Linked DNA regions of Homo sapiens: region 2 is linked to region 1. Evidence: promoter capture Hi-C in 16 types of primary human blood cells and fetal thymus (Javierre and others, 2016). All regions are on one chromosome and are shown on one strand. The core of a region is centred on a gene start or on the middle of the fragment in contact, and the rest is flanking DNA. Distances in the headings are between cores, read along the strand shown. Region 1 holds the start of ETV5-AS1 (ETV5 antisense RNA 1). Region 2 overlaps DGKG (diacylglycerol kinase gamma).

Region 1 (4,082 bases), core at 1,443-3,942:
ACCTGATAGATCGGCATAGTGTACTACAGAGCCCAGGACTCCCGAGGGCAAGTGATCCTCCCACCTCAGCCTCTCAAGTAACTGGGACTACAGGTGTGTGCCGCCATGTGTGGCAAGGGTGTACTTTTGACTAGATTACATTTTAGCTATTTACGGTATAATTTTAGCAAACTTTTATCACTATCAATAAACATATACTGAGGACAAATAAGGTACAAGGCTAAATGTGGCCTAAAGAAAGGAGTCTAAATCACAGGTTTTTATCCTCAAAGAGCTTACTCTATTCAACTGAACAGATACGGCACACCCAGCAAAACAAAAAAGACACATGTTAAGCACATGGGTTTGGATTAAATGATGTAGGAATTTATTAAGATTTTGTAGTTGAAGAGATAGATAGAACTTAAAAGTATAATAAAAAAACAGATAATGTTCAAGGTCAAAACAAATTTATCAAGGTCAATTACTCAGTTTTTATAGTAGACATTAGTGGATGTTAGCAGCCCAAATAAAATCATAACTGAAACAAATGGCGTAATTACACGTCATGGAAGTTTTTGGTTGCTGAATGTAGGACCCTGTATTTGGCTATGTGAGCTTTAGAAAGTCCTTTAACTGTGCTGAGGCTTGATTTCTAACCTATAAAATGGGTTTTTTCACTCTGCCTATGTCACAGGGCGGTTAAAAGTTTCAAATGAGACTCTCTTTACTTCTATCATGCAAAATACCATATATTTGTATTAGGGATTTCGTTTTGAAGTAATAGTCCCTCTAATCTTAATAAAAAGTTCTAAGCCAAGAGACAACCTATAGTCACCAATAAAAGTAATCTGCCCCACTTTTGGGCAGGCATAAAAGTTATTAAATATGTGATTATGAAGCTTGATATTATCCATGACTGTAATTTCTATTACTTTTACAAATATCAAACCAGGGATTTTGGTCTGTCTCATTTTCTGTGTACTATCCAGTATCTAGAAGAAAAATCACTGTCACGTTTTTGATGCGTTTTATGTCACATAGATATCACGTGGATGACCATATTAATAGACAAAGGCAGTAGGAATAGAATTTGGTAATACATGCTTTAAATAAAGGTAGGGTGGAATAAGGATGAGGGTAGAGAGAGCTGGATCACAATTTCTCAAAGTGTGACAAGACTATATCCAGGCCCCGCCCCAGGCCCACACACTCTATCTCTGAATGTTAACAAGGACTCTGCATTGAAAATCCCCGCTCCACACTCCCATGGGGACTCCTGTGCACTTTCAACTTTGAGAGGACAGCACTCTTGAGTGGAAATCCAAGTGCCCAGTGTTGTTTGTAATCGATTTGGTCACCTACAGAATTCCTCCCCCTTCACCTCAATTACCTCAAGGATCTCTGTATCACCCCAGTGTGTGTGTGAGAGCTTTGAATTTTAGACCCATCAGTCTCAAAGGCAGAGTATAACAAGAAGTAAGTCCAAAATGCACAGGCAGACTTCAAGGAGGAATCACCCAAGAAAAGAAATACCTGCATTCTGGTTCCCTCCTCTCTTCCTTTCAACACCCACGGGCAAATAACTCATCAATCCCAGGAATCCAAAACTCCTTCCTTCTCAGGGGGCTGGGTGGACTGGAGACAGGCTTATTTCACAGCTGAGACTGGGGCTACCCATCTCCCAATTCTCCAGGAGAACTAGGATATTTGTCTCCCAACTCAGTTAACTGTTAATACAGTATGTTACATAAGCCCCTTGGATAAAAAACAAGGATTGAGGGGGAAATATTAGATAAAGGAATTTTCTTTTACAGTTCATGGTATAACAAATAGAAGTTTGCTAAGAGTTTCAAATACTGAATATATACTCGACCCCACACTTCCTCCCCAATTTCCCCATAACCCTTGCAGAAAATCAGCAAGATGCTGTTTAAAAACACCAAAAAACCATTGAAATAAAAATGATATCTAGGCCAGAGTTCACAAATTGGCAGGCCTGCAGGGTGATTTTGCCCAGAGAAGTTTTGTTTAGTCTGCAGAGGTGTTGTTTTTAATTTGAATTAGTTGCCAACTTAAAAAAAAAAGTCTACAATTTTTACATAAAAAACCAAGTAACCAAATTCTTCTGCACAAGTACAGGTTGTTAGTACAAGGTAACAATTGCCAAAAGCTCAGCGGCAGCTGTGTCCTCCAGATGAGTCCCCGGTGGCAATAGAGGCCCACTCCAGAGCCAGCCCCCCACAACCCCGTCAGTGCTCACCCCTTGAGCCCTGTGTAACACAGGCGTTCGTGTTCCTTGGCCTAACCAAGGAATAAACAGCAACCAGCCATATTTTGCCGTTCTTAATGGTGACTTTCAGAGCAAAACGGGAAGGGGATCAGAACCAGACAAAGGGACCTTATTTTTTCCCCTGCATTTCATCTAGAAATAAAATGACCTCCAAGTAAATACTGGTAGGCATCTGGAATGGACCAGGCCTGGGAAAGGTATACTCATATATTCTTCCCACTCCCGCCCCATTGTGGCCCCCACACCGATCCACCTAACACAAGATAGATAGATATGAAATACCATGGCCACCATCTTGCATCCTTTGGTAATATTGTTGACAACTACCCCCCTATCCCAGAGAAACTTGAAATAAAGACAGGCCCCCAGCACATCTTCTATAAAAGAAGGCCACAAGCATCCGAGATTCTAGAATACCACAGATAAAGAGGTCAGGTTTGGAGTGTGCAGAGAAGGTTCCCTTCACACACTTTTTTGACAAATGAATGACTCTGGACAAGTTACTCCTGATGCCTCAATGCCTGTAGAAATGTAAAAACCACCTGCAGTGTAACCAGGAGATTTCTATTTCAAAAGCAGATGTACAAATAAGGTCCTTAGCTAATCTCCTACTGTTAAAACATGTTAAAATCAGATAAGTAATATTACCTTGTATAAATCAGCAATTGTCCCTTATATGTAAGTGAAATGGTAATAACTGAAGTTCAATTCTATTAATAGTAGGCAGCATCCAATGAGGAGTCAGGAACCTGCCCTCAGTGAGGGACAAGACTATCCTGGCAAGTCATTCTTCCTCTAGTTCTGTGAGACGGGAGAATACCAGTTACCTCTCCCTTACCTACTTTATAAGGATGTCGTAGTCCATCAACCATCTGGAGTACCTTGGGAACAGGGTGGTATATAAACAGTCATATTCGTATTATCATTAGTCTTGCCTCACAAGCTGCCTCAATGTAATGATAACTTTTTAGGAACCTGGTAAATAAGACAAACTGCTTCCCCTCTCCCAGTGAGAAAGGATAGGAGTGAGGGAGACAATTAAGGAAGAAGCCCAGATCAACACCCACCTCTGTTCTGATGGATACTGGTTTTCAGGCATCATCTTTGGCATCTGCAGGGGCTGATGTGGTGGTCGGGGGACCGCAAATGTTTGCTGCTGTGGTCCAGGCTCTGGAAGCGAATGGGGGGCGGGGGCGGGGCCCACACCTTGAACTGGGCCAGCTGCAGGGGCATGCCCTGAGGTGGGCAGAGTTGCCTGAGGTGGGGGAAATAGGGGATTCTGATGGGTGGGTGAGAGGGGGGTTGTAGGAGGGGTTAATGGCTTGAACCCAGAGGGAGGCTTCCTATCATAGGCACTGTAAACAGAAAAAGAGAAGGAACCATTAAGCTGAAATGAAGCCATTAGCATGGTTACCAGGTCCAGCAGAAAGCTAGTTTGCAGCCCATTGTTGCCAGGAAATAACAGCATTAACATAGTTAAATCGCTCGTAGCCCCGAGGGGATATTTGTACCTCTGAAAAGTGACAAACACACTGCGTCACAGGGACTTGTTTAACACTTCTAGTGATTTTTCTCAAGGATAATTTTAGCCTCTGCTTCCGGTTTCCTTTTTCCCTCCTTCTAAAAGAATTCTCCGTGTATGCCTGTGTAGGGTGGGTGGGTGAGGGGAGAATGTATGTTTGCCAGGTGTTCTCTGGTCCCCTCTCCCAACTATTTCCAGGGTTCCCAGGAATTAGTCAGAATATGTGTTGAAGGTCTGTTTGTGCTGTGACATCATTTGAATTAACAACTCTTCTCCTCCCCCTTTCAG
Region 2 (4,593 bases), core at 1,487-3,986, 150 kb after region 1:
AATAATATTGCAGTTGCTCTGTGTTTGGAAGTTAGGGCACAACCTGGTAGATAGATCAACTATTCCACAATCATGGAACACTGAGAAATGAACTTGACTCTAACTACTAGAAAAGTAGCCTAAGCTCACATTTACCTTTTCCCTGAACTCACCACTTTGTACAAACCATGATTATTGTGAATTTTAAGATTATACCACCAAGGCTTGATTATTAAGGGACAAATTCTTTAGTAAGTAGATAATCCAATCCTTCAAATTTCTTCTTTTCTAACCCATCAGCTGTTAACCATTTCATTTTTCTTTAGTGCAATTTTTACCAGTTGTGGAGATGGGGCCAGAGGGGGAAATGTGTACAAGGCATGAACCAGAACGTCAGCTCAAATCAGAGGGCATCCCGTGGTGTTATCTCCACCCCAACCCTGCATATACAGAAACCGTGATTATGAGCAGCCGCTTCCCCTCTCCCCACCCAAGTTCAGGGGCAAGGTGGTACAGAAGAGGAAAGGGGGAACCTGACTAATTACAACACTCTGTTGAGAGCTCCAATAAAAGTTTCACTGAGATCAACAGTTTGCAGTTTTCATTTACCCAGGACTTTCTCACTCCCTCTTACTCTGTGGTAACCCAAAACTGGAGATTACAGACCCGCTTTCAGCTTATTGAGTTCAAAGGCAAGGTAGGGTACTTGGCTTGATTGGCAGTTTGGAATGCTCTCCAAAAAGGCCCACTTTCAGGATTAAAGGGACACTCCATTTAACAGAATAGAAAACATCTTGTTACTAGAGAGTGAAGAATTTCAATCTAAGTGTAGGTTCAATAAACATGAATATTCAGCAATTACGTAATTCCCTGCTGTGTTAGTAATTTGAGGGTATAAGTACATTCTTGAAGTGAGAAGAGCCCCTCTTTCATTGAAGAGCATTAGAAGATTGGGAAAATGCCTTCTTAGTAAAATATGAAGTGGTAAGCACCTCCTAACCCCTTCAAATTTAAACACTCCTACAATCTTCATAATAGAGATCTACAGTCTTCAAAGTAGAGATTTGATGACCCCCTTTGGAGGAGCGTTTATAGAGGGGATGCTTACACTGAGAAGGGGGTTGAAATCTAAAGTCCCATCCAAAGCTAGGAGTCTATAAGTTACTATTACAGACAGGAATCATGACAGCATGCCTTTAAATTAGAGATTCTACAATGGATTCTCATATACTGCTGCATGTTCTCCTTACAAATCCCTGTAGTAATCAATACAGCATCATACCAATACCTGATAAACTTCAAATCCATTGATTTATCTACTCTAATTCTCACAGGCACCTTGTCAGGCAGTTGTAATTTCCATTTTACACATCAGAACATTAGGAATCAGAGAAGTGAGTAACTTTCCCAATGGCACACAGTAAGTAAGAGGCAGAGTAAGGGCTGAAACTCAGTTCTTTTGATGCTGAATGCAATGAAACTCAGGAATTTGTGTCTGTATTTCACATGAGGGTGACCACGACCTGGCATAGCAGAGTTGTAAAGCCATTTGTTCAGGGTTTCTGTGAAATAATTTACTGTGAAATAAGTAAATTATTTCACAGAAGAGAGTTACTGCGTTTCCTGATAAGTACAGTGAAAGCTTGCTTTTGAAATTTCCTTTGGCCCAATAATAAGTGCATTACAACGTTTTTTAGTAAATGTTGATTTAAGTGGGGAGTTAAAATTAATCACTTGAATCTTTTTTGAGAACATCTATTACCTTTTCACCTTGTTTTTCAATTTCTTCATAATAAAACGCATGCAATTATGAAAAGTTTAAAGAAAATATGGGCGACTGAATATGCTAATCACATCAGCCGTAAATACAGATACAGACTCTGTTGTATCACCAAAATACCCTTATGCAAAAGGGCAATAATTTTCCAAAAATACTCTTATGCAAAAGGGCAACAATTTTCTGAAGTTTTAATTAGTAAAGTACAATAGAAGGCCAACAAACTCTGACATTATTTTTTCTGGAGCTAAAAACAAACAAAGAGACATGTTAAACTAACTTTAAAAGCCACCTAAGTTGCCCTCTCCCTGAAGGCATCTGAAATTGTGGTGGTGAGGAAGAGAGAATGACATGCGGATTCTTTTTTTCAATATGGATTTCTACTTCACAACCAAATAGCATGCTTTAAAGCTCAAGGTTTATAAGAAAGCTCTGTCGTTGGTTTCCATAGTTTTTCCAGCCCTGATGTGTACTGACTCCTCCAGGGCAGCAGAGTTGGCTCCTTCTCCTCTCTCCTGATGCCCCTCTTCCTTCTCTCTCCCCCTGGGGATTGCCTCTTTTCTGGGTCTTTCTGACTAACACTCTGTCTGTACTATTCTAACACTTCAGCAAGGTTCAGTATTTTAAAGTCCCAGTGTTTCTAGGAGCCCTGAAATTTTTGCTCCACAAATACTTTGAAAGGTAAGCCATTCCTTCATTAATCTGTTCAAAAAGCACTTACTGATGGATACCCTCACTGTCCACTCACCCACTCCTAGGATAAGATGCAAACTCTGGTGCAGACCAGCGAGATCTGCTGCAACTGCTCCCCCCGCCTTTTCACTCCACCCGGGAACCTCCGGCCTCTCCGCTCATGTCCAGTGTCCTCTCACACTTCAGCCCTTCTCCCATACTGCTTCCCTCCTCCTAGCATTTCCCCGGTTGCTTCTCTCCTTGGCGAATTTCCATTTCTGTCTCCAGCGCTCATGCAAATGTTACCTTCCTCCTGAAGTTTCATCCTAGTCTCTCACAACACCCTCATTGTTCACGTCCCTTCGTGAAAACAAAGCTACCATATTACATTGTATTTCCTTCTTGTGTGAAGGTCTGGGGGAAGACTGATGCTGTGGGCTGAATTGTGTCCCCCCCAAAAATGATATGCTAAAGTCCTCACTCTCTATACCTGTGAATGTGACCTTATTTGGAAATAGGGTCTTCGCAGATGTCATCAAGTTAAAATGAGGTTATACCGGGTTAGGGTGGGTCCAATCCAGTGACTGACGTCCTTATAAGAAGAAGGAGATTTGAACAGAGACACAGATACAGAGGGAGAAGGCCGTGTGATGATGGAGGCAAAGATTTGCGTGACTGATACATCTACAAGCTAAGGATGTCAGACTGGCGGCAACCTCTAGAAGCAAGGAGAGAGGCACAGAAAATCATTCTCTCTCAGAGCCTGGGGAAGGAATCAACCCTGCTGACATCCTTCAGACTTGTAGCTTTTTTTTTTTTTTAGATGGAGTCTCATTCTGTCACCCAGGCTGGAGTGCAGTGGCATGATCTCGGCTCACTGCAACCTCCGCCTCCCGGGTTCAAGTGATTCGCATGCCTCAGCCTCCCAAGTAGCTGGGATTACAGGTGCCCACCCGCCACCATGCCCGGCTAATTTTTGTGTTTTTAGTAGAGACGGGGTTTCACCATGTTGGCCAGGCTGGTCTTGAACACCTGACCTCAAGTGATCCGCCTGCCTCTGCCTCCCAAAGTGCTGGGATTACAGGCATGAGCCACTGCGCCAGGCCAGACATGCAGCTTTTAGAGCTACGAGCGAATACATTTCTGCTGTTCTAAACCACCCAGCTGTGGTGCTTTGTTATGGCAGCCCAGGACACTGATATAGTTGGTATTAACTTCTGTATGTGCTCATCTTCCCAGTTATACCCACGAACTCCTGAAAAGCAGGGGCTGTGGTGCTCCATCGTTCCTCTCAGACCTAGCATGATGCTAACACAAATAGATGCTCAACTCATTTTGGCTGAATGAAGAAACATGCTTAGCATCACCCTTCTGGATTTAGTTCAGTGGATCCTGAAGAGAGTCAGACTCCTCTCCGAGTGAGAAAGCTTATGAACAAGTTGGAGACATAACAGTAGTTTAGCATCCCAAACAATGAATTATAGAAGACAAAGAGGGTGCAGCAAAGTGGGACAGAATGTGTCAAAAACACTGGAGATGGGCTGGGCGCGGTGGCTCACGCCTGTAATCTCAGCACTTTGGGAGGCCGAGGCGGGCGGATCACGAGGTCAGGAGATCAAGACCATCCTGGCCAACATGGTGAAATCCCGTCTCTACTAAAAATAAAAAAATTAGCCGGGTGTGGTGGCGGGCGCCTGTAGTCCCAGCTACTTGGGAGGCTGAGGCAGGAGCATTGCTTGAACCCAGGAGGTGGAGGCTGCAGTGAGCCGAGATCACGCCACTGCACTCCAGCCTGGGCAACAGAGCGAGACTCCGTCTCAAAAACAAACAAACAAACAAACAAACAAAACAACAACAACAACAAAACATTGGAGATGGAGTGTAAGAGAAAGTGGAGTACCAAATGGGTTGGTTAAGTAGGTTCGTTCAGAATATTCTGTGCTGCATTTTGAAACAAGTGATGACTAGGTCACAAGAGGAGATGTCATCTAGGTTGAGGGATTGAGGGAATGAGAGCAGCTGTGTGGGGAAGGTGAGAGTAACAGAGCAAGCAAGCAAGAAGGTGAGGCTGGTGTTTGAGGAGGAGAATGTTATAAAGGGCGCTAAATGCAAGCATGGGATGTAACGTGGGAGGGGGGTGGTGGAAGTAGGTGCTTGTGCAGCAG

What was found. The method cuts DNA at HindIII sites, captures the fragments that hold promoters and counts their contacts. A CHiCAGO score of 5 or more calls a contact.
Region 2: a contact is called between a fragment that was not itself captured here and the fragment with the promoter of ETV5-AS1 in region 1, in 3 of 17 cell types (M1 macrophages, M0 macrophages and megakaryocytes). The highest score is 8.2, in M1 macrophages.

The regions. Positions count from the first base shown.
Region 1 is chr3:186,076,478-186,080,559 of GRCh38, forward strand. ETV5-AS1 (ETV5 antisense RNA 1) reads left to right here and starts at 2,693. Exons shown (of 2, transcript NR_046594.1): 1 at 2,693-2,864. ETV5 (ETS variant transcription factor 5) reads right to left here. Exons shown (of 13, transcript NM_004454.3): 7 at 3,340-3,627. LOC124909470 (a long non-coding RNA gene) reads right to left here and starts at 3,332. Exons shown (of 2, transcript XR_007096205.1): 1 at 2,555-3,332; 2 at 345-1,737. RefSeq lists a silencer at 1,090-1,285. The HindIII fragment of the contact is 3,249 bases long and covers 880-4,082 here.
Region 2 is chr3:186,226,011-186,230,603 of GRCh38, forward strand. The region is part of intron 20 of DGKG (diacylglycerol kinase gamma); the gene reads right to left. Among named protein-coding and RNA genes, the nearest start is that of ETV5, 120 kb to the left of the region's middle. The HindIII fragment of the contact is 2,234 bases long and covers 1,620-3,853 here.